7 separate regions of the Homo sapiens genome follow, and regions 2, 3, 4, 5, 6 and 7 are each linked to region 1. The links are contacts of gene promoters, found by promoter capture Hi-C in blood cells and fetal thymus (Javierre and others, 2016). All regions are on one chromosome and are shown on one strand. Each heading gives the region's core, a stretch centred on a gene start or on the middle of the fragment in contact. The rest is flanking DNA. Distances are from core to core; before and after follow the strand shown. Region 1 holds the start of ALG8 (ALG8 alpha-1,3-glucosyltransferase). Region 2 overlaps CLNS1A (chloride nucleotide-sensitive channel 1A). Region 3 has its middle 10 kb from the start of NARS2. Region 4 overlaps NARS2 (asparaginyl-tRNA synthetase 2, mitochondrial). Region 5 overlaps NARS2 (asparaginyl-tRNA synthetase 2, mitochondrial). Region 6 overlaps NARS2 (asparaginyl-tRNA synthetase 2, mitochondrial). Region 7 overlaps NARS2 (asparaginyl-tRNA synthetase 2, mitochondrial).

Evidence for each region. Contacts are between HindIII fragments. The CHiCAGO score rates a contact against its expected background, and 5 or more counts as called.
Region 2: a fragment that was not itself captured here is called in contact with the fragment with the promoter of ALG8 in region 1 in 1 of 17 cell types (activated CD4 T cells); the score reaches 5.8 in activated CD4 T cells.
Region 3: a fragment that was not itself captured here is called in contact with the fragment with the promoter of ALG8 in region 1 in 6 of 17 cell types (monocytes, fetal thymus, neutrophils and 3 more); the score reaches 11.6 in monocytes.
Region 4: a contact is called between a fragment that was not itself captured here and the fragment with the promoter of ALG8 in region 1, in 1 of 17 cell types (naive B cells). The highest score is 5.8, in naive B cells.
Region 5: a fragment that was not itself captured here is called in contact with the fragment with the promoter of ALG8 in region 1 in 5 of 17 cell types (monocytes, naive CD4 T cells, total B cells and 2 more); the score reaches 7.1 in monocytes.
Region 6: a contact is called between a fragment that was not itself captured here and the fragment with the promoter of ALG8 in region 1, in 4 of 17 cell types (megakaryocytes, fetal thymus, erythroblasts and 1 more). The highest score is 6.2, in megakaryocytes.
Region 7: a fragment that was not itself captured here is called in contact with the fragment with the promoter of ALG8 in region 1 in 1 of 17 cell types (naive CD4 T cells); the score reaches 6.0 in naive CD4 T cells.

What each region holds. Positions count from the first base shown.
Region 1 is chr11:78,138,270-78,141,122 of GRCh38, reverse strand. ALG8 (ALG8 alpha-1,3-glucosyltransferase) reads left to right here and starts at 1,497. Exons shown (of 13, transcript NM_024079.5): 1 at 1,497-1,629. The coding sequence starts at 1,535. KCTD21-AS1 (KCTD21 antisense RNA 1) reads right to left here and starts at 1,330. Exons shown (of 3, transcript NR_102281.1): 1 at 1,051-1,330. RefSeq lists enhancers at 54-764, 925-1,034, 1,645-1,724, 1,805-1,914. The HindIII fragment of the contact is 5,506 bases long and covers 1-1,766 here.
Region 2 is chr11:77,628,220-77,631,072 of GRCh38, reverse strand. CLNS1A (chloride nucleotide-sensitive channel 1A) reads left to right here. Exons shown (of 7, transcript NM_001293.3): 2 at 1,174-1,310. Among named protein-coding and RNA genes, the nearest start is that of CLNS1A, 8.1 kb to the left of the region's middle. The HindIII fragment of the contact is 4,039 bases long and covers 1-2,853 here.
Region 3 is chr11:78,583,850-78,586,702 of GRCh38, reverse strand. No RefSeq gene overlaps it. Among named protein-coding and RNA genes, the nearest start is that of NARS2, 10 kb to the right of the region's middle. The HindIII fragment of the contact is 6,128 bases long and covers 1-2,853 here.
Region 4 is chr11:78,542,282-78,545,134 of GRCh38, reverse strand. The region is part of intron 5 of NARS2 (asparaginyl-tRNA synthetase 2, mitochondrial); the gene reads left to right. The region is part of intron 1 of NARS2-AS1 (NARS2 antisense RNA 1); the gene reads right to left. Among named protein-coding and RNA genes, the nearest start is that of NARS2-AS1, 11 kb to the right of the region's middle. The HindIII fragment of the contact is 4,377 bases long and covers 1-2,853 here.
Region 5 is chr11:78,525,894-78,528,746 of GRCh38, reverse strand. The region is part of intron 6 of NARS2 (asparaginyl-tRNA synthetase 2, mitochondrial); the gene reads left to right. Among named protein-coding and RNA genes, the nearest start is that of NARS2-AS1, 5.9 kb to the left of the region's middle. The HindIII fragment of the contact is 2,418 bases long and covers 42-2,459 here.
Region 6 is chr11:78,503,625-78,506,477 of GRCh38, reverse strand. The region is part of intron 6 of NARS2 (asparaginyl-tRNA synthetase 2, mitochondrial); the gene reads left to right. Among named protein-coding and RNA genes, the nearest start is that of NARS2-AS1, 28 kb to the left of the region's middle. The HindIII fragment of the contact is 1,027 bases long and covers 908-1,934 here.
Region 7 is chr11:78,473,862-78,476,714 of GRCh38, reverse strand. All of the region lies in intron 9 of NARS2 (asparaginyl-tRNA synthetase 2, mitochondrial), which reads left to right. All of the region lies in intron 1 of LOC105369403 (a long non-coding RNA gene), which reads right to left. Among named protein-coding and RNA genes, the nearest start is that of LINC02728, 45 kb to the right of the region's middle. The HindIII fragment of the contact is 8,270 bases long and covers 1-2,853 here.

The sequences.
Region 1 (2,853 bases), core at 248-2,747:
GCTGAGGTGGGGAGGACTGCTTGAGCCCAGGAGATCGAGGCTGCAGTGAGCTGTGTTTGCACTATTGCCCTCCAGCCTGGGCCACAGAATGAGACCCTGTCTCTCAAAAACAAAACAAAAACATCTACGTGAGGTCAGGTAGCCAACTGGAGACCAGGGTCTGAAAGTGAGAGAAGAGTGCTGAGCTAGAAATCTGTGAATCATATTCACATGGGTGGCAGCTGAAGCTGTGGGAGGGCATAAACTCATATTAGGGAGGTGACACTGTCACCTACTTGCTGTGCATCTTTCAGCAAGATAATTAACTGATCTGACACATTATTGAGCATTTATTCTGTCCTGGAATCATATCAAGCAATTTACATGCATTCTCATTTAATCCTCACAACCAGTTTATGAGGCTGAAACTTTTTTTTTTTTAGACCAAAAGCATCTTGGATAAACAGGCCTGAGGCTTGCCCAGGCTGAAGTGCAATGGCGCGATCTCAGCTCACTGCAACCTCCGCCTCCCACGTTCACGCGATTCTCTAGCTTCAGCCTCCCGAGTAGGTGGAATTACAAGCGCCCGCCACCATGCACGGCTAATTTTTTTTTAATTTTTAGTAGAGACAGGGTTTCACCATATTGGCCAGGCTGATCTCAAACTCCTGAACTCAGGTGATTCGCCCACCTCGGCCTCCCAGTGTTGGGATTACAGGCGTGAGCCACCGCGTCCGGCCAGAAACCATTTTTATCTCCTATTTTCAAAAATAAATAAATAAATAAAAATTTTAAAAAAAGAAACTGAGGTTTAGAGTTTAGTTTGTCCAAGATCATACAGTAAAATAATGAGACAAGCCTAATTAAATTGCATGTGCCTCAGTCATTACGCAATCTGCGAGTTTGTTGGGCCTACTGAATCAGAATCCGAATTATTTTAACATGAACCGTAGGCTATTTGTACACTAAGCGTTAGGACTAGCCTCTACCCTGCTTCCAGAATGGGTTCCGCTCAAGCAGGAGGTGAGCCAAGAGCCTCGCTCAGAGTTCTAAAAACACAATGTTTCTCACCTCTGTATCTTTGCACATGCCATTCTCTAGCTGGATTTAATACTCCGGTGCAAGCGTCCAGGTTGGGAGCCCCCGCAGTTCTCTGAGGTACTTTTATCTACTGTAACTCTAGGGCAACAATCCTGGCTTCTCCACTAGTGCGTGAACGTCTCTAGCGTTAAGTTTTTTTCTCACCTAAGTATCCCCAATACTACACAGTGATGACCCAGCGCAAACGACCACTCTTTCAACGCAAGCATGAACTAGCTGATAAAACTTAAAAGTGGCTACAAACGCCTGCGCAGGAGCCCTTCCGGCCCGGGGTGAGACGCGGGTCTAAAGAAAAGGTGGGCGGGAGGTTTAAATAGCTGACTGCAGTCCCCGGACTGGCTGCGCCGCTCGCCGCATGCGCGCAGCTAGCGGGCACGGCTTCAGAGGGCTTTCTCCGCATGCGCGGGATCCCGGATGTGGATCAAGTTGGTGGGAAGCGTGCGGTGCCGCAGCAATGGCGGCGCTCACAATTGCCACGGGTACTGGCAATTGGTTTTCGGCTTTGGCGCTCGGGGTGACTCTTCTCAAATGCCTTCTCATCCCCACATAGTAAGGGACTCGCACGGCCAGGGGCTGGGCGGGGAGGCCCCGCGGTCGGTCAGGGCGGGAGAGAAAGGTGTGGATATCCCTGGGTATGAAGAGAAAACTTTAGGTCGTGTTTGTCGCTATCCTGCCTTTGCTAAGCTTTCTGTTTCGCCAGTTGTTACTTGACTTAGCCCCAGCTGGCTAGGTTCAGACCTGGCGCTGTCTGATTTGGAACAAATCACTTTAACGTTTCTGAACCTCAGGGTCCTCATCCTTAATAGGCAGTTAAGAACCTCTGCCTCCAACAGCCATTCAGCCAGTATTATCAGATGCCTGAGGTGCCAGGTACCGTTCTAACTCCCGGGAGATGCGGTGGTGAGCAAGACATTGCTGGTCCTTGCCCTCGAAGTTGGTGGGTGGAGCTAGACAAACAGGAACTTTTCAGATTGTGATAAAGGAAATAGAGGGTTACTAAGTGGCTGTGCGCTATTCCTTTAGAAGGTGATGTTTGAGTTGAAATTCAAAAAATGAAAAAGAATAAGTGATGTGGAAAGCAGTTCAGGCATAGGAAAGAGTAAGTTCAAAGGCCCTGTGGCAGGAAAGAAGTCAGAGCATTCTAGGAACAGAAAGTGCCCCTTGTGGCTGCAGAGCATTGAGGGAGAGGAGTGGCACAGCATGGGGTGCACTGGGGACAGATAACACAGGGTTTCGAAGACCACAGTTAGACTGCTGTGTAAAAAATGGATGTAGGGCCAAGACTGAAAGCGTGGAAACCAAGAAGCAACCATGAAATGGTGGTGTGTATACAGTAGGTACTCAGTATTTATTAATATTGGCTTCCGCCTTCCCTTCATCCTTCCTCTTTTTTCTTTTTCTCCCTCATCCCTTTTCTCCTTTCCCTCCCACTTCCTAGTTTAGGGTTTGTTTTATTGGTATCCTTTGATTCAGGCTCTTGGTGATCTCTTGTTGAATATGGGAGAGTCATATGTATAGAATGTAAGTCCATACTGATGCGTATATGTAATCATGTAAGTGGAATGTATATGTAGATTCAGTAAAATGATTAACTGTAGGTCTGTGCATAAGATTATTTCTTGCTTTAGTTGCCTCAGGCTAGAAATGTATCCTCAGAGTTGTTTTTTTTGTTTGTTATTTTTTTTTTTTTTGAGACAGTCTCGTCCCACTCTGTCACCCAGGCTGGAGTACAGTGGCACGATCTCAGCTTACTGCAACCTCTGCCTCCCGGGT
Region 2 (2,853 bases), core at 118-2,617, 510 kb after region 1:
GCTTGGTTAGAAATTAGACAGCCAGGCTTGTTAAAATTGTATAGAATATAGAATGATACAGGGGTCTTACTTCATTAACTTTTAAAAATAATTCATATAGCATACAGTTTAACCATTTAAACATACAATTCACTAGTTTTTAGTCTGTTTACAGAATTGTGCAATTATCACCACCATTTTAGAATATTTTCTTCACCCCAAAAAGAACCTGGTACCCAGTAGCAGACATTCCCTATTTCCTTCTAGCCCTAGGCAACCACTATATTGCATTAACATTTTTTTTTTGACTTCTTCAGGATTTTTTACTTTTTTTCTGCTAAGTGGTACAGCTCCAGATGGATGAAGTATTATCAGAAAATTAGCTAGCCTCTACTGAAAGCTCAAAATACTGATTTTGGTGATGTGTTTCCTTTGTTACACCAATAAAATATTTGCATTTGACCACATTTGAGGGAAAACTAGATCTAGCTTTTCTGTGGCTTTCTCTTAAAGACGTTGAATAAATGAAAGGCTTCAGGGAATCTGTCTCTCAGGGTAATAATTATTTCCTGACTTGCGGTGAGTGTGATTACAGCCATTTCATATATATGTCTTTTAGTGTAGGATTCATGGAGAAATGCATGATTACCAAGGATTTATTGCATACTTAACTCCTGAGCTCTTTGTTAACGGTTTTGAAGGATGTTAATAAAGGAATGTGACAAGTTCTGCTGTCCGATAGTTCACATTCCATAAGGGCACATATAAGACTCATTACCACAGAGTTAAGTGCTAAAATTTGCAAATCAGAAAAGGAAGAGATCTTTATGGACTGGTGTAGTTGAAGGGAGGCCTCATGGAAGAGGGGAGGATTTGCAAAAGCAAAGAGGGTATTTGAAGACATACCAAAAAAGAGTAAGCATGAAAGTCATAGAAACATACATGTGACTGAGGAAAATGGAATTTCAAGTCTGTTTGAATTTATAGCTAGAGGGAAAGAGACCGTAACAGAATTGATCTTAAAGAAAACTCAGTTTCCACTACTGAATTTTCTTATTTTATGAACGTTTCTAAAAAAGTAAACTTGAATTTATTTATATGCATAAAGGTGTCCAAGCTGAACTTTTATATACTTTGTGGTCTTACATGAGGATTTACTTTCTAAAAATAATCTACTTAAAACATGTTTTTCAGCCGCCTGTCTTGGTTAGATGGCTCTGGATTAGGATTCTCACTGGAATACCCCACCATTAGTTTACATGCATTATCCAGGGACCGAAGTGACTGTCTAGGAGAGCATTTGTATGTTATGGTGAATGCCAAATTTGAAGGTATGTATGGTGTAATTTAATCTAATGCCTCCTTTGATAGCAAATTATATTTTAAAAAAGAGTCTTTGAGGCCGGGCACGGTGGCTCACGCCTGTAATCCCAGCACTCTGGGAGGCCGAGGCGGGCGGATCACAAGGTCAGGAGATCGAGACCATCCTGGCTAATACGGTGAAAACCCGTCTCTACTAAAAAATACAAAAAATTAGCCAGGCGTGGTGGTGGGCGCCTGTAGTCCCAGCTACTCAGGAGACTGAGGCAGGAGAATGGTGTGAACCTGGGAGGTGGAGCTTGTAGTGAGCCGAGATCATGCCACTGCACTCCAGCCTGGGCGACAAAGTGAGACTCCGTCTAAAAAAAAAAAAAGAAAAAAAAGAGTCTTTGATAATAATCAATGTAACATTGAGGCCATTGACTCATTTTGGGTAGTAGTTTATTAAGCAAAATTTCAGCACAGCAACTTGGACACTTGAAGTTTTCACAATGGATGTTCATGTGTGTCTGTATATATTTCTCTATATTTACACTTAGAATTCTTCATTTATTATGGATATGTATTTCTAGCTTTTCCTCTAAAGTTTCACTGTTTATTCTGCCTTTCTCTTTTTAAAAGGCACCCTTAGGGGCTTGGATCAGTATACCCTGTGCTTCTCATAATTTAAGATAGAACTGTTTTGTTTTGTTTCAGTAGTGGGTCTCAGTGGTTGTAGGGGGGATATATTTTCCATGGGCCTCCACCAACCTCACCATTCCCCCACATTTGGCAGTGACATTTTGGTTGAAAGAGGAAGGGTATTATTGGTGTCTAGCAGTTAGATGCCAAGGATGCTATTATTATACTAAATATTCTGCTATGCACAGATGGTCCCCCACAACAAAGAATTATTCCATCCAAATGTCAGTAGTGCCAAGGTTGAGAAACTGTAGGATATAAAGATTCTCAAGTTTTGCTTTGGGATAATTGCAAAGACTTGTAAAAGTCTAGTGAAGATGCTCATGTTTAAAATAACGGGTTGCTTTTCTTTGAAGTAGTGTGTAAGAGACAATCCTATGAAGTTACCTACAAGGCTATTGCTCTTTCAAATTTAGATTTTAATATGGTTCCAGATATAATATGATCATTTATATTCAGGTGTGAAACTATTTAGTAATTCTTAGGACTTTTGGCAAGACCTGCCTCATTAAGTGGTAATGACTGATTCAGCTATCTGAAAATATTTTTGTTATAAGATTTCAAATTCTTGCCATTGGAAAAGGTTCAAAGACATTTAAAAATCTAGTGAAGTTTGAAAAAGAGGATGAGGAAAAGTAAAAGGCTGTTAACCTTGGGGTGTAGTAGTGTAGTAAGACTTCCTAATAAGGCATTTGGCACAAAATTTACTCTCCATCTAAGTAAATGCAACTATGATTTTATAACCAAGAATATTATGTGTCATGTTTAGTTTAAAGCATTCATTCATTTGCAGAAATGCGAAACCTTGCTCTTGTCAGTCAACTCCAGATGCTGGTGTGAAATGGCCCCAAATAGTGACGGCCATTGGAGGTG
Region 3 (2,853 bases), core at 210-2,709, 450 kb before region 1:
AAGGGAATTTACTTCTTAAAAATATCTCCCCTTGCAATTTATATATGTTACCACCAGGTGGCAGGAATGTTTGATGAGCACCCAGCAAAGTCAAATGATTCACTTCTGCAGATTTAAAATTATGAATGGCAGTACTATCTTATAGCAAAACATCAAAACACATTTCTTAGAACAGTTAAACTACAGCCAAGTAGTCATCATTTTATTTTATTTTTTAATTTTAATTTAGTGAAAGGTACTTTTTTTTTTTTTTTGAGATGGAGTCTTTCTCTGTCACCCAGGCTGGAGTGCAATGGCGCAATCTCAGCTCACTGCAACCTCCGCCTCCTGGGTTCAAGTGATTCTCCTGCCTCAGCCTCCCTAGTAGCTGTGACTACAGGCGCCCGCCACCACACCCAGCTAATTTTTTGAGTTTTTTTAGTGGAGAAGGGGTTTCATCGTGTTAGCCAGGATGGTTTTGATGTCCTGACCTCATGATCCACCTGCCTCGGCCTCCCAAAGTGCTGGGATTACAGGAGTGAGGTACTGTTTATTTTAATGAAGTCATATGATTTGCCAGATCTAAGCATATGAAATTATCAGTGAACAAAAAATAAAAAATAAAAAATCTATGTCTTTATGACATTCACATAGTGAGCAAAAGAAAAGATTCTGGAACCAGACTATGAGAGTTTGAATCCTAATATTTGCTGTTTATCATCTAAGGGACCCTGGGCAACCTACTTAAACTCTTGTCTCTCAGCTGCCTTATCTATAAAATGAGGATGATAAAAGTGCATACCCTTTGGTCTTAATGATGAAATAAACATAGCTTATGGAATGTCTAATAGATTATTTCATTTGCTAATTTTGACAACCCTGTGAGGCAAATATTATCTCCGTCTCACAGAAGTAACTCATCCCTTACCTATGACAGCAAAAGTCCTTGCCCATAGTGACCTGGCTAGTACATGGTGAAGCCAGAATTATTTTACCCTGCTCACTGCACAACCAACATAATTTTTTTTTAAGAGACAGAGTTTTGCTCTGTTGCCCAGACTGGAGTGCAGTGGCATGATCATAGCTCACTGTAACTTTGAACTCTCAGGCTGAAGCAATCCTCTTGCCTTAGCCAGAGTAGCTAGGACTATAGGTGTGCACCACCATGCGTAGCTATTTCATTTAAAATTTTTTTTTTTTTTTTTTTTTTTGCAGAAATGGGCTCTCACTATGTCACCCAGGCTGGTCTTGAACTCCAGGCCTCAAGCCATCCTCCTGCCTCGGCTTCCCAAAGTGCTAGGAATACAGGCATGAGCCACTGCACCTGGCCTGAACATAGTATTTTTAAAGTAAACTTTTAATTGAAGTTTAACATACAGTTTATATACATAAAAGCATAGAAATAATGAAGTTTACAAAGTGAATACACCCATATATCTACCTCCCTTCCAGATCAAGAAGTAGAAATTACCATCACCCAGAAGCCTCCCTTTTCATTCCTCCCACTCTTTCCCTAAAGTTAAGTATTTTTCTGGCTTTTATCACTATAGATTAGTTTTTCCATTAGAATACTTTACATAAATGAATCATACAATATGTATTCTTTTGTGTCTGGCTTTTTTTCCTCTCAACTTTATGTTCATGAGCGTCATCCTTTTTTTTCCTTTTTGAGAGAGAGAGAGAGTGTGTGTGTGTGTGTGTTTGAGACAAGCTCTGCTCTTTCACACAGGCTGGAGTGTAGTGGCACACACACAGCTCACTGCAGCCTTGACCTCCTGGGCTTAGTCCATCCTCCTGCCTCAGCCTCCCATATAGCTGGGACTACAGGCACATGCCACCATGTCCAGCTATTTTATTTTATTTTATCATTATTATTTTTTTTTTTGTCGAGACAGGGTTTCACCATTTTGCCCAGGCTGATCTCAAACTTCTAGGCTTAAGTGACCTGCCCACATGGGCTTCCCAAAGTGCTGAGATTACAGGTTTGAGCCACCATGCCTGCTGAGTGTCATCCTTATTGGTGTGTGTAGCAGTATTCTACTCATTTTGATTCTAGTTACATAAATATACCATAATTTATTACCCATTCTTCTGTTTATAGTAATTATTACAGTGTACATTCTTGATATAATAAAAATCTACTCTAAACTAGTTTTCTATTTCCCATCCAATGCAAGGATCTTACAATGCTTTAATTTCATTTACCTCTTTCCTGATTTTTGTGCTATTGGGGTTGTATATTTAATTTTATATGTATTTTTAGCCTCACAAGACATTGTTATCATTGTTCTATACAGTCAATATTTGTTTAGATTTACCCACTTTTACCCTCCACTGTTCTTTATTCCTTCATGAGTTTTCACACTTTTCTCTGGGATTATTTGCCTTCTGCCTGAAGACCTCTGTAGTGTGGGTCTACTAATAATAAACTGTCTTAGCGTTTGTTTATCTGAAACCTCTTTTATTTAACCTTCACTACTGAGGGATATTTCTCAGGTATAGAAGTCTAGGTTGGCAGATATTTTCTTTCAGAATTTTAAAGATACCACTATTGTCTTTTGGTTCCATAATTGCTTTTGAAAAGTCAGCTGTCTGTCTTATTTATTACTCCTTTGAATTTAGTGAAACTATTTTTAAGATTTTCTCTTTTCTTTTTGTTTCCAGGAGTTTTACTATGTGCCTAGGAATAGAGTGTTTTGTTTTTTGTTTTTTATCCTGCTTGTGTTTGTAGAGTTTCTTGAGTCTGTGGTTTGATGTCTTTTACCAGTTTTGAAAATTCGTGGCTATGATCTCTTCAAGTATTGTTCTAATTATGTCTCTCTTTACTCTCCTTATGAAACTCAAATTATGTGAATATTAGACTTTTTCACCATG
Region 4 (2,853 bases), core at 206-2,705, 400 kb before region 1:
AAGAAAAGTAATATAATCAGTGTATTTTATTATGTAAATACTGTGGTCTAGAAGAATGTAAGTAGCCTTTATATAGAGATATAAAGAACTGCTGACTTTGACCACTATAAATTAGGACTTAAACAGGTGTGTTATATTGGTGACTCACATATCATGAACAGTTTGCTATTTGTGATGAGAATACTGGAGTGCAGTGGCGCGATCTCACCTCACTGCAACCTCTGCCTCCCGTGTTCAAGCAATTCTTCTGCCTCAGCCTCCTGAGTAGCTGGGATTACAGGTGCCCACCACCACGCGCAGCTAATTTTCTGTATCCTTTTTTTTTTTTTTTTTTTTTTTGTGAGACGGAGTCTCGCTCTATCGCCCAGGCTGGAGTGCAGTGGCACGATCTTGGCTTACTGCAAACTCCGTCTCCCAGGTTCACGCCGTTCTCCTGCCTCAGCCTCCCGAGTAGCTGGGACTACAGGCACCCACCACCGCGCCTGGCTAATTTTTTGTATTTTTAGTAGAGACGGGGTTTCACCGTGTTAGCCAGGATGGTCTCGATCTCCTGACCTCAAGTGATCTGCCTGCCTCAGTCTCCCAAGTGCTGGGATTACAGGCATGAGCTACTGCGCTCAGCCGGTAACTCATTCTTGATAAGAGTTCCGCATGAAAGTATTAGCTTTCCCTTGATTTACATGGAAGATGCATTCTGGAAAATTCAGAGCATATTAAAATAATACAATTTACCTAATTCACTAACATGAATGTTCCATTGCATATTTGAAACTTGGGGTAGTACCCACTAAATTTCAGTAGCTCTCCCCAGTTATGACAACCAGAAACATTCCCTCTAAAAAGGACTTTTTAGGCCATTATAAGAATATTGGCTGTGAGTCTTTGGAGAGTTATAAGCAAAGGAGTAATAAATCACTTATATTTTAATGAGATCATTCTGGCTGCTATATGGAGATTAAATCAGGGAGAGGTACAGAAGAAGAGAAACCAGTTAAAAGTCTAATGCTGTATTTTAGGTGGACAGATAGTGATTTACACAGGAGTTGAAATTGTACATCCTCAAATGTGGTTGGATTCTGGAGAGTGAGAGAGAGTTTTTTTTTTTTTTTTTTTTTTGAGACAGAGTCTTACTCTGTTGCCAGGCTAGAGTGCAGTGGCACAATCTTGGCTCCACCTCCCGGGTTCAAGCGATTCTCCTGCCTCAGCCTCCCGAGTAGCTGGGACTACAGGTGCGCGCCACCACGCCCAGCTAATTTTTGTAGTTTTAGTAGAGACGGGTTTTCACCATGTCGGCCAGGATGGTCTCAATCTCTTGACCTCGTGGTCTGCCCGCCTTGGCCTCCCAAAGTGCTAGGATTACAGCCATGAGCCTCTCTGCCTGGCCGGATTCTGGATATATTTAGAAAGTAGCTTATGCATCTTGGATCTTGGTACCAGGGTACATGTTTTTTGTTTTTGTTGTATCTATTCCTGCTGTGTATTTTCCCAGAAGTGATTATGTTGAATAGTTCACCTCTGCTAGACTTTTGAACTTTTAATATAGAGAGAATTATTTTTTTTCCTACAAATGGTTATTTCCATTGCTAATTAAAAGTAGAAAAGTAGCGTTTCTTCTTTTTAAAAAACATGAACTTTCATGTTGCTAGTCTGGACATTAGAATTCAAGTAATCATAAATGAAAAGAAAATGTCAGCTTCATAAACACTGGAAAGTTTTTTGAGTTTATACTCTTTAGGGCCAATACCATCTAATTATTAGGGGAAATTGGTTTTTGTTGGAAATTAGACATTTATTTTATGCATGCCATCTTTGAAGGAAGCATTCCATGGCATTGTTGACTTCAAGAGACACTTTGATCTCAAAAAATGATGTGAATCCCTTTTGGATAATCTTTGGATAGCATCAAAATCGTGACTTTTATATGAGTATGCTTTATAATGGCTTATTCTTTTTTTTTGACACGTAGTTTTGCTCTGTTGCCCAGGCTAGAGTGCAGTGGCACCATCTCAGCCCACTGCAACCTCTGCCTCCTGGGTTCAAGCAGTTCTTGTGCCTCAGCCTCCCTAGTGGCTGGGATTACAGGCACCCACCACCGTACTTGGCTAACTTACTCTTGATTACCACAGCCAGAGGTAAAGGGCAACCAAGCCCTTCTGTTCCAGTTATCAATAACTTAACTTCCTCCTTGCAGCAACTGCAAGAAAGTATATTTTGTGGGGGGGTTTGTTTTGACCCAAGGTCTCGCTCTGTCGCCCTGTTGGGAGTGCAGTGATGAGCCAGCGATCATGGCTGTCTGCAGCCTTGACCTCCTGAGCTCAAGTGATCCACCCACTCCAGCCTCTAGAGTTACTAAAACTACAGGTGCGCACCACCACACCCAGCTAATTTTTAAAGTAGAGTCAGGGTCTCACTATGTTGCTCAGGCTGGTCTTGAACTCCTGGTCTCAAGCAATCCTCCTGCCTCCACCCCACCGAAGTGCTGGGATTTATAAGTATTTATTGAGTACCTGCTGTGTTTAGTGGTAGTCAAGTCCTTTGTGTGGATACGTGGTTTGGAGACTTAACTCTGGAGCATAGGTATCCCTTCTCACAGAAGTCCTAGTTAACGGACTAGGACCATATCTTATCATATTCATCCTTAAAGCCCCAATCTGACAATGAATAAGCCAAAATTAATATTTTTCAAGCAATAGTGAAAAAAAGTTTGGTTCATTTTTCACCGACCCCTTTACATTTAGGAATAAGTTTGCTGTTTTGCAATTTTACATTTGTGTTTATCTCCTGTAAAAGAAAAATAAGGCAGCATTGTATATTCACTTTCTGTTTTGCCTCAACCTTACCCTCTAATATTAG
Region 5 (2,853 bases), core at 1-2,500, 390 kb before region 1:
TTTATCATTAGTTCACTTGAATTTTCCAAAATATTTAAGCTTCTTACTTGTAGTACAGACTTTTGTTTTTAGTGAAAAATGTAACACTGAAAATACAAAGTTGTCATTTTTTTCTTTTTACTAATTTTTCTTGCTTGAATCCCAAACATGTAATCAGAATTTATTTAAATTAATCATATTTATGGAAGTAAAGGCAATTTATAGTTTATACCTGAACCGGGTATTAGTCTATTTCATTTTAAAGAGAGTAGTATTTGAAACAGACGGAATAATTTTTTTTTCAGTAATTGGTTTAAATAAAATTAACTCATACCTACATTTTGAGAGGTGTACAGCAAATTACATCTTTTAAGTCAGATCAAATGAATTTTAGCAACTGTCAGACCTCTGGAAAGTCACTGTATTCCTTGGGGCCTACCTTTTCTTTAAAACGGGATTGAGAAAGAAGACCTTTAAAATCCTGTCTAAATCTTATATTCTGTAATTCTGTGGGTAATTCCCATTTATTTTTATTTTTTTTAGAGGTGGGATCTCGCTTATTGCCCAGGCTGGAGTGTAGTTGCACAGTCATAGCTCACAAACTCCTGGGCTCAAGTGATTCTCCTGCCTCAGCCTTCTGAGTAGCTGGGACTACAGGTATATACCACCAAACCTGGCTAATTGTTTGTAGAGATGGGGTCTTGCTATGTACCAAGGCTGATCTCAAACTCTAGGCTCAAGTGATCTTCCTGCCTTAGGCCTCCCAAGTAACTGGAACTCAAGGCATGTGCCAGCACACTTAGCTAATTTTTAAAATTTTTTGTAGAGGTGGGTTCTCACCATGTGTCCTAGGCTGGTCTCAAACTCTTGACTCAAGTGGTTCTTCCGCCTCAGCCTCCCAAAGCACTGGGATTACAAGCAGGAGCCACTGAGCCTGGCCTCTGGGGGTAATTTGTTAATGCAGACTCATCAAGTACTGAGTTTTCTTTATGTATCTTTTTCTTTAAATATTTTCTCATTATAGAGATTAGGACTTAAAAAAATCTTTTCTGGAAATAGCTCACTTGAAAGGAAGGGAATCTTTTGGTGTTTTCCATTGTTTTAAAAATGCACAGATGAGAAAACTCAAGGAAAATGTAATAGAATAGTTTGCATATTTACTTTTGTACTTTGCTAGAAGAATGGAAAGTCAGTGGTGGAATAAAGATGGTCTTGAAAGTAACATGTTCTTTTCTGATTTATCTTTGAAACAAAAATATGTTATTTGATAGTTCCAATAACCAAATGACTGGCAATATTAGCAGAATACTATGCAGAAAAAGTGTCATAATAACATGGTGAGATTATAGGATTTGCAGATCTGGATGTAGGAAAGGCCGTGTCAAGCCTGTCATGGAATGTTCTTATGCCTACGGAATTATAATTTAAAAAAATTAAAAACATGACTCATTCAAATACAAAATGAATTTGTATCAAAGTTTTCATTCAGTTGATTATATTACAGAGGAAACAAGTAAAATAGAAAACTGTTTCAAAGAGCATCTGAAGACCTCTGTATTTATAGACATTTTAATAGTTGGAATAAGAGTGCTAGGTCAGTTATAAACTGGTTAATGTCCTACAGGACCAACACACCCTAAACTTTGGGATTATCTCTTCTACCTGGTAGAGTTATTTGCAACTCTGCTGGGAAAGATCTGTAAATTAGCGTGTAACTTCACTTAATACGGGTTATTTAATTCAATATTAAATAGACTAATGGAACAAGTACATTTCCCTTTCCCTAAGTAATTAAGTAATCGTCGAATGGGCCTTTGTCCCCTCATTGTGTAATACCTTGAAAGGACATCACCTTTTTAAGGCTACAGCTTTTGGCCTTATATTCAAGGTTTGGATAACCTTTCTTAACAGCCTTTTAGTATTCATTTCTATTATTTATAAAGTTAGAAGCAAGGTGTCTCATCCCTCAGAAGTGTCATATGTGAAATATATAAACTTAGCAAATGTTTGTTTCTCTATTATAATACCACTAGTGTATTAAATATGCCTCTTTCCCAGTAAAGCGCAGTGAACCACAGAACACAGTGTTCTGTGAAACTTGACGGAAGATTAAATTGGTAGAATACTAGGTTTTGTATTTTTTAGTGTGCCATGAAGTATTTGTACTACTGTCATTCAAATGTTCCTAGTTTAATATGCACAGTTCTAGGACTATTAATATGCAGAACATAATGTTTTTGATTAAAGTATGATTTATTCTCCAATAAGAAATTGTTAGTCCTTTTTCCCTCAGCTTTGTTTTTTCTTGAATTCAATTTAACAGACTTTGTAAAAGGCAAAAGATTTATGCAATCTGAAGAGAAACCAGAGTATTAACAGACTTTTAAAATGGAGAAAATGGTAGTTAAATTTAGACAGTTAACATTTTCCAAAAGGATATCTCTGTTGCTTTAGTGGGTTTATGGTTCCATTTTAAAGCTTTTTTTAAAGTAAATATTCTATGTTGGAATAATTTTTAATATATAGAAAGTTGAAAAGATAATGCATAGTTTTGTGTATTCTCTATCCAGTTTCCCCCATTGTAAACATCTTCCATGACCATGATACATTTGTCAAAACCAAGAATTAAATGTTATCACATTACTATTAATGAAGCTCTAGACTTTATTTGGATTTCACCAGCTTTTCCATCAATACCCTTATTCTTTTTCCAGGATCCAATTCAGGGTACCACATAAAACTTAGTTGTCATGTTTCCCCAGTCTCTTCCATTCTATTACAGTTTCTCAATTTTTCTTTTTTACGACCTGTGGAATGTACTCTAATCTGGGTGTGTCTGACATTTTTCTCATGATTAGACTAGGGTTATTTGGG
Region 6 (2,853 bases), core at 172-2,671, 370 kb before region 1:
TTCTCTGCCATCTTCCCAAAATACTGTCAATCCATCTGTCGTTTGATACTTAGTTGTTTCCTGCGTGTGGAGCTATTGTGATGATGAAGCTCTCTGAAAATTCATGCAGGAGTCTGTGTGTGGACATATGTTTTTATTTCCCTTGGGTAAATAACTAGGAATTAAGTTAATGCTTAACTTTGTAAGAATCTACCAAGTAATTTGCTGAAGTAATTGTATTATTTACATGCCCGCTAGCAGTGGATGAGGATGCCGGTTGGTCCACGTCTTTGACAAAAGATGATGTCGTATTTTTAATTATAGTCATTCTAGTGAGTATAGGATATGTCATTGTGGTTTTAAATTGTATTTCTGTAGTGACCAGTACTGTTGAACATTTTTTTCATGTGCTTACTGGCTGTTCATATATCTTGTTTTTGAACTATCTTTTCAATTTTTTTCATCCAATTTTTACTAGGTTGTTTGTTTTATTATTGGGTTGTAAGAGTTCTTTATATATTCTGGATACAAGCCCTTTATCAGATATAGGTGGTGTACTTTTTTTCCCCAGTCTGCCTTTTCTTTCCATTTTAAAATAGTTTTTTTGAAGACCAGAAGCTTCTTATTCTGTTAGTGTATTATAGTCTTTTTCTTATGTGGTTCATGAATTTCTTTATCCTGTCCAAAAGATTGCCAACATTTTTCTTCCATGTTTTTTCCTAGGGATTTTATATCTTAGCTTGTATTTTTAGGTCAGGGAAGACCCTGCTAGTCTATAAACTTTTTGAAGGTACAGGCCATACCTGATTTACCTCTGTATTTTCCACAGTGATTAGTAGTCTAATAAATATTTGTTGAATGAATAAATCAATATGACTTCAGGTAGATAATGATGATAAGATACAGACAGATAGCTAGGCCCTAAGCTTCTGTATCCATTCCTTCTTTGCTGCTATAACCTGTGAGCTTGAATTACTTCCATGCTTTTGATTTAGTTCACCAGTATATTCTAGTTGGGGGGAAAAATCAGTTAAAAAAAAAAAACTCCATCAGAAAATGCATTTAAAAACTTGAAATACTATGCTATTGGATCTGTTAGGATATCTTAAAGTACCCTTATTATGTGAAACTGAAATTTCTTTTTCTCTTTTAACATAAGATATATACATACGTATGTGTGTGTGTGTGTGTGTGTGTGTGTGTGTGTGTGTGTGTGTGTGTGTGTGTGTATTTTGTTTTCTTTAAGAGACAAGGTTTCATTATGTTGCCCAGGCTGGTCTCAAACTCCTAGGGTGAAGTGATCCTCCCTCCTCAGTCTCCCAAACTGTTGGAACTACAGACATGAGCTACCACTCCTGGCTTCATTTTACATTTTCATGCAGTGGGTGTGAATTTCTCTTGCTATGAATTCAGAAAATTTAGTGGTTTTTTTTTTTTTAAGTCAAAATTGTAAAAATTTACCTGTGAACTGTGTGCATGAATTATAGAAACCACGGAAACATTTCCGTGTATTTTACTTCACTGAAACCCACTAACAACCTTAAGTGCAGTTCTGGGGGCAGAGCTGGGGCATCTAAACAAGGACACTTTAAAGAGTGAAAGGGAGGGCTGATAACAGTTATTCTGGAGCAGTCAGCATAAAATGGTTTTTTCCTGGGCAAACCAAGACCTGTGATCACCCTAAAGTTGATAGATACGAACAGATTAAATTTCTCTCTTCACCGGTGTTATATTTGCTTGTTTTTAGGGAACCACTTAATAGAAATGCCTCATAGGCTGTAGAAGATGTGCTGTAACAAAGACTGTAGGAAAAAATAATATGTGTATGTGTGTTTGTATGTGTTTTACAGAAAATAAAAGGAAATTTTATCTTTGCTCCTTTAGAAAAAATTGCCAATAAATTCAGTCATGGTTTTCCTTCCCTCTCACAAGTAAAAGCTGATAACAAATAAGCTTAGTCACATGTATTCGTTGCTAGCCACATTAGTTTTATTTATTTTGATGTCAATTCCTATTTTATTTCCCACATATACCCTACACAGAAAAAAAAAAAAAAAAAAAAAACTGGTGTTTTGCCACATGAAACAGGTGTAAGGGACGGATAAACAGACATGTGTCACATAGATCTTTACAGTTGGAGAATATGCAAAACCCAAGCCAGCCTTATTTCACATTTAAGAGGTGGATTTAGCATGTGAATTAGGATAAAGATCAGGAGGTAGAGACTTGTTTTTTGTTTCTGGAACATTCTTTAGGGACTTTTATTTAGTTTCTTCAACTGGGTAATTATTCTGGGCTTTCCTCCTGATTCTCCTTTAGGACAATATGGTGTGAAGTTCAGTGGAAAAATTTGAATTTTAGGCAGATAGTATTTTAGGGACTACTGTAGAAAGAGTTATCTCAGAAGTTTTCTTAGCCAAAATATATGTATGATTTGATGATACTGGTATTTCCTATATAGCTGTGGAGGGTTGGCTGTAACTTGGGAATTTGGAGATAACGGTTCAAATAGTTCAACCCAGAGTTTCTCTGCCTTTTGTATAGGTCATCCCATGATCCTATCATTAAGAGTGTTCATTTTTAGTATTCATGCAGCCTACAAGGCCTGGCATGGCAGAGCATGCCATTCTTCCTCTTCTTCCTTCTCCTCCTCCTCCTCCTTCTTACTCCTCCAATTCAGGGAAAATGAAGAGGGATTTTTCATATATTCTTTCTATAGGCTAACTCCTTCTGTAAAAGCAGTTTGCCTATTTCTACTTTTTGATGGTTCCTTTGTGCTTTTATGTTCATAAACCAAGCTCTGTTTGATTTGGAGTCTGTCAAGAGTATTAGAAAATTTTTATTTCATTCATAGTATATAGGCCTCTGCAAGTG
Region 7 (2,853 bases), core at 34-2,533, 340 kb before region 1:
TGTCATAATCCATTCTGCATACTACAAATCATAGTTGCAGTTTAAATTTGTGGGGAGAGGGACATCAGCAAGATGATGAATAGAGGGTCCCAGCCTTCACCACAGAAAGTCCATTTGGCAACTAGTCACATACAAGAACACCTTTTTGAAAATCCCAAAATTTGGGAATGAAATTGAGACACGCAGATGGACCACAGAGCAAAAAGTGCATTAGAAGGGTAGGAGCAATGGTCTCAGTTTGACTGAATCCTCCCTTCCCTAAGTAGGCACAATACCACACACAGAAGATTCCCCTTGGCACACAGTTAATGCAGTGGAAAAAGAGACAGCTATCCAGTTTCCCCAGCATTCTGTGATGCTTCCTAGGAGGCCCATTCCTGTCTCACAGGGAACCCTGGGGGTAAGGCCTAGACTACCAGGGGTCAAGTAGGAACAAAGGAGTGGGGCAGTGCTCACAGCAACCAGTACACGGATCTTAGTCATAGCTGTGTTCCTGCCAGCAGTAGCACCTGATCAGAGATACCAGCCAGTGGCATAGCCCATTTACAAAGCCTAGCTGGTTGCTGCAGAAGCTCAGTAGGAAAGTCTATCTGGTTTGAGCCCCTACAGGGCAGCCACCCCACCTAGCCTCAGCATCCACCCCCATGCTTTGCTCAGGCAGGCAGACATCACAAATGTTTTACATTTGTGTAAGATACAGATGGCCAATAGGTTTATCAAAAAGTGTCCAACATCACTAATCAATAAAATGCAAATTAAAACCGCACTGAGATAACCACTCACACCTGTTAGAATGGCTGTTATCAAAAAGTAGAATGAGACACGTTGGCTCATGCCTGTAGTCTCAGCACTTTGGGAGGCTGAGGTGGGAGGATCACTTGAACCCAGGAGTTCAGGACCACCCTGGCCAACTTAGTGAGACCCTGTCTCTACAAAAAATAAATAAATAAATTAGTCAGGTGTGGTGACATGTGCCTGTAGTGCCAGCTACTCAGGAGACTAAGGTGGGAGGATTGCCTAAGCCCAGGAGGTTGAGTTTTCAGTGAGCTATGATCACAGACGCTGCTGCACTCCAGCCTGGGAGACAGAGCAAGACCTTGTCTCAAAAAAAAAAAAAAAAAAAAAAAAAAAAAAGTCAAATGATAACAGGTGTTGGCAAAGATGTGGCGCTTGGGAACCCTTTTATAACTGTTAGTGGCAATGTAAATTAGTAGAGCTATTATGGAGGATAGTATGGGAGGTTTCTCAAAAAACCAAAAGTATATTTACCATATGATTCAGCCATCCTACCTCTGGGTACATATGCAGAACTGAAGTCAGTATGTCAAAGAGATATCTGCACTTACATGTTCTTTGCAGCACTATTCATAGTAGCCAAGATATGGAATCAACCTAAGTGTCCATCAGTAGGTGACTGGATAAAGTAAATGTGTATATATATACACAGTGGAATACTATTCAAAGGAAATCTTATTTGTGACAGCATGGATCAACCTGGAAGACTTAATGCTAAGTGAAAGAAGCTAGGCACAGAAAGACAAATACTGCATGATTCACTTTGATGTGAAATGTAATAAAGTTAACACTACAGAAGTAGTGAGTAGAATGGTAGTTACCAGTGGCCGGTGAGGGGTTCTTGAAGGGAATGGAAAGAAATTGTCCAAGGGGTACAAAGTTTCAGTTAGACCAGAGGAATAAGTGTTCAGGATTTATTGCATAACAAAGTGACCATAATTAATTGTAATGTATATCTCAAAATTGCTAAAGGAGTAGATTTTAAATCTTCTCACTGCAAAAAAAAAAGTGAAGCATGTGAGACGATAGATATGTTAATTACCTTGATATATTCATCCCACAGTGTATAATACCAAAAACACATTGTATCCTGTAAATACATAAAATATTTGTCAATTAAAAATTCAGACATTTTTAAATAAATGTATATGTGTGATTATTTGATTGGTATCTACTACCTCTGTGATGTCAGAGGCTATGTTTAAATTGCTTACTCTTATACCCCCAGGACTTAGCCCAGTGCCTTTAACAGGAACTCAGTAAATACTGAGTAATTGAGTGGACAAACAAGTGACTTGAGTAACTGTGGCTGTAAAGGTATTCTTTAGGCTGGATCCTCTCCTGAGGTTTCTTATTGGCTAATATCACTATTTATTTCAGTCACTGAGGGTAGTGAACCATGATTCAGAAAACCTGGATTCTAATCCTGGCCCTACCATTTACTAGCCATTAATGAGTAAATTATTATTTTTTAACAAATATTTATTGACTGCCTAATATGAGTTAGGCACTTTGCTAGTTCTTGAGAATAATGAAAACAAACATTGATTTATTTTTTTATGGAGTTGAAAATCTAGAGAAAAAGATGAACAGTTAAATATTTATATGAATAATGTAATTACGACTATGAACTTGATTAATAGTGAATCTTTAACTTTTCTGAACTTCAGTTTCCTCATCTATAAAAAAATACTCTGCCTTATATTGTTGAAAGGATTTAATGACAATACTGTTAAAAGCAATATGTCAGACTAGGTAATTTGAAAACACTCTTTCTGCAAAACATCTAAAAATAATACTTAAAATATTATAAGATTCTTTTAAATACGTTGTTGAATTCACTAGAAAGTAGGAGAAGTTCCAGGTGCTAGAAATGAAGAAGGAACCAAACACCAGAGTGATATGGACAGTTGGTGTGATGCTGAGGATTCTCAGGGTGTAGGGTAGGGAAGCTGGAGGGCGATTTTCCAGTTTTTGAAACCAGAGATTTTAACAGCAATGAGATGACATGAGAATAGACGTAGCAGAATGAATTAGAATCAAGATATCCCCTGAAAT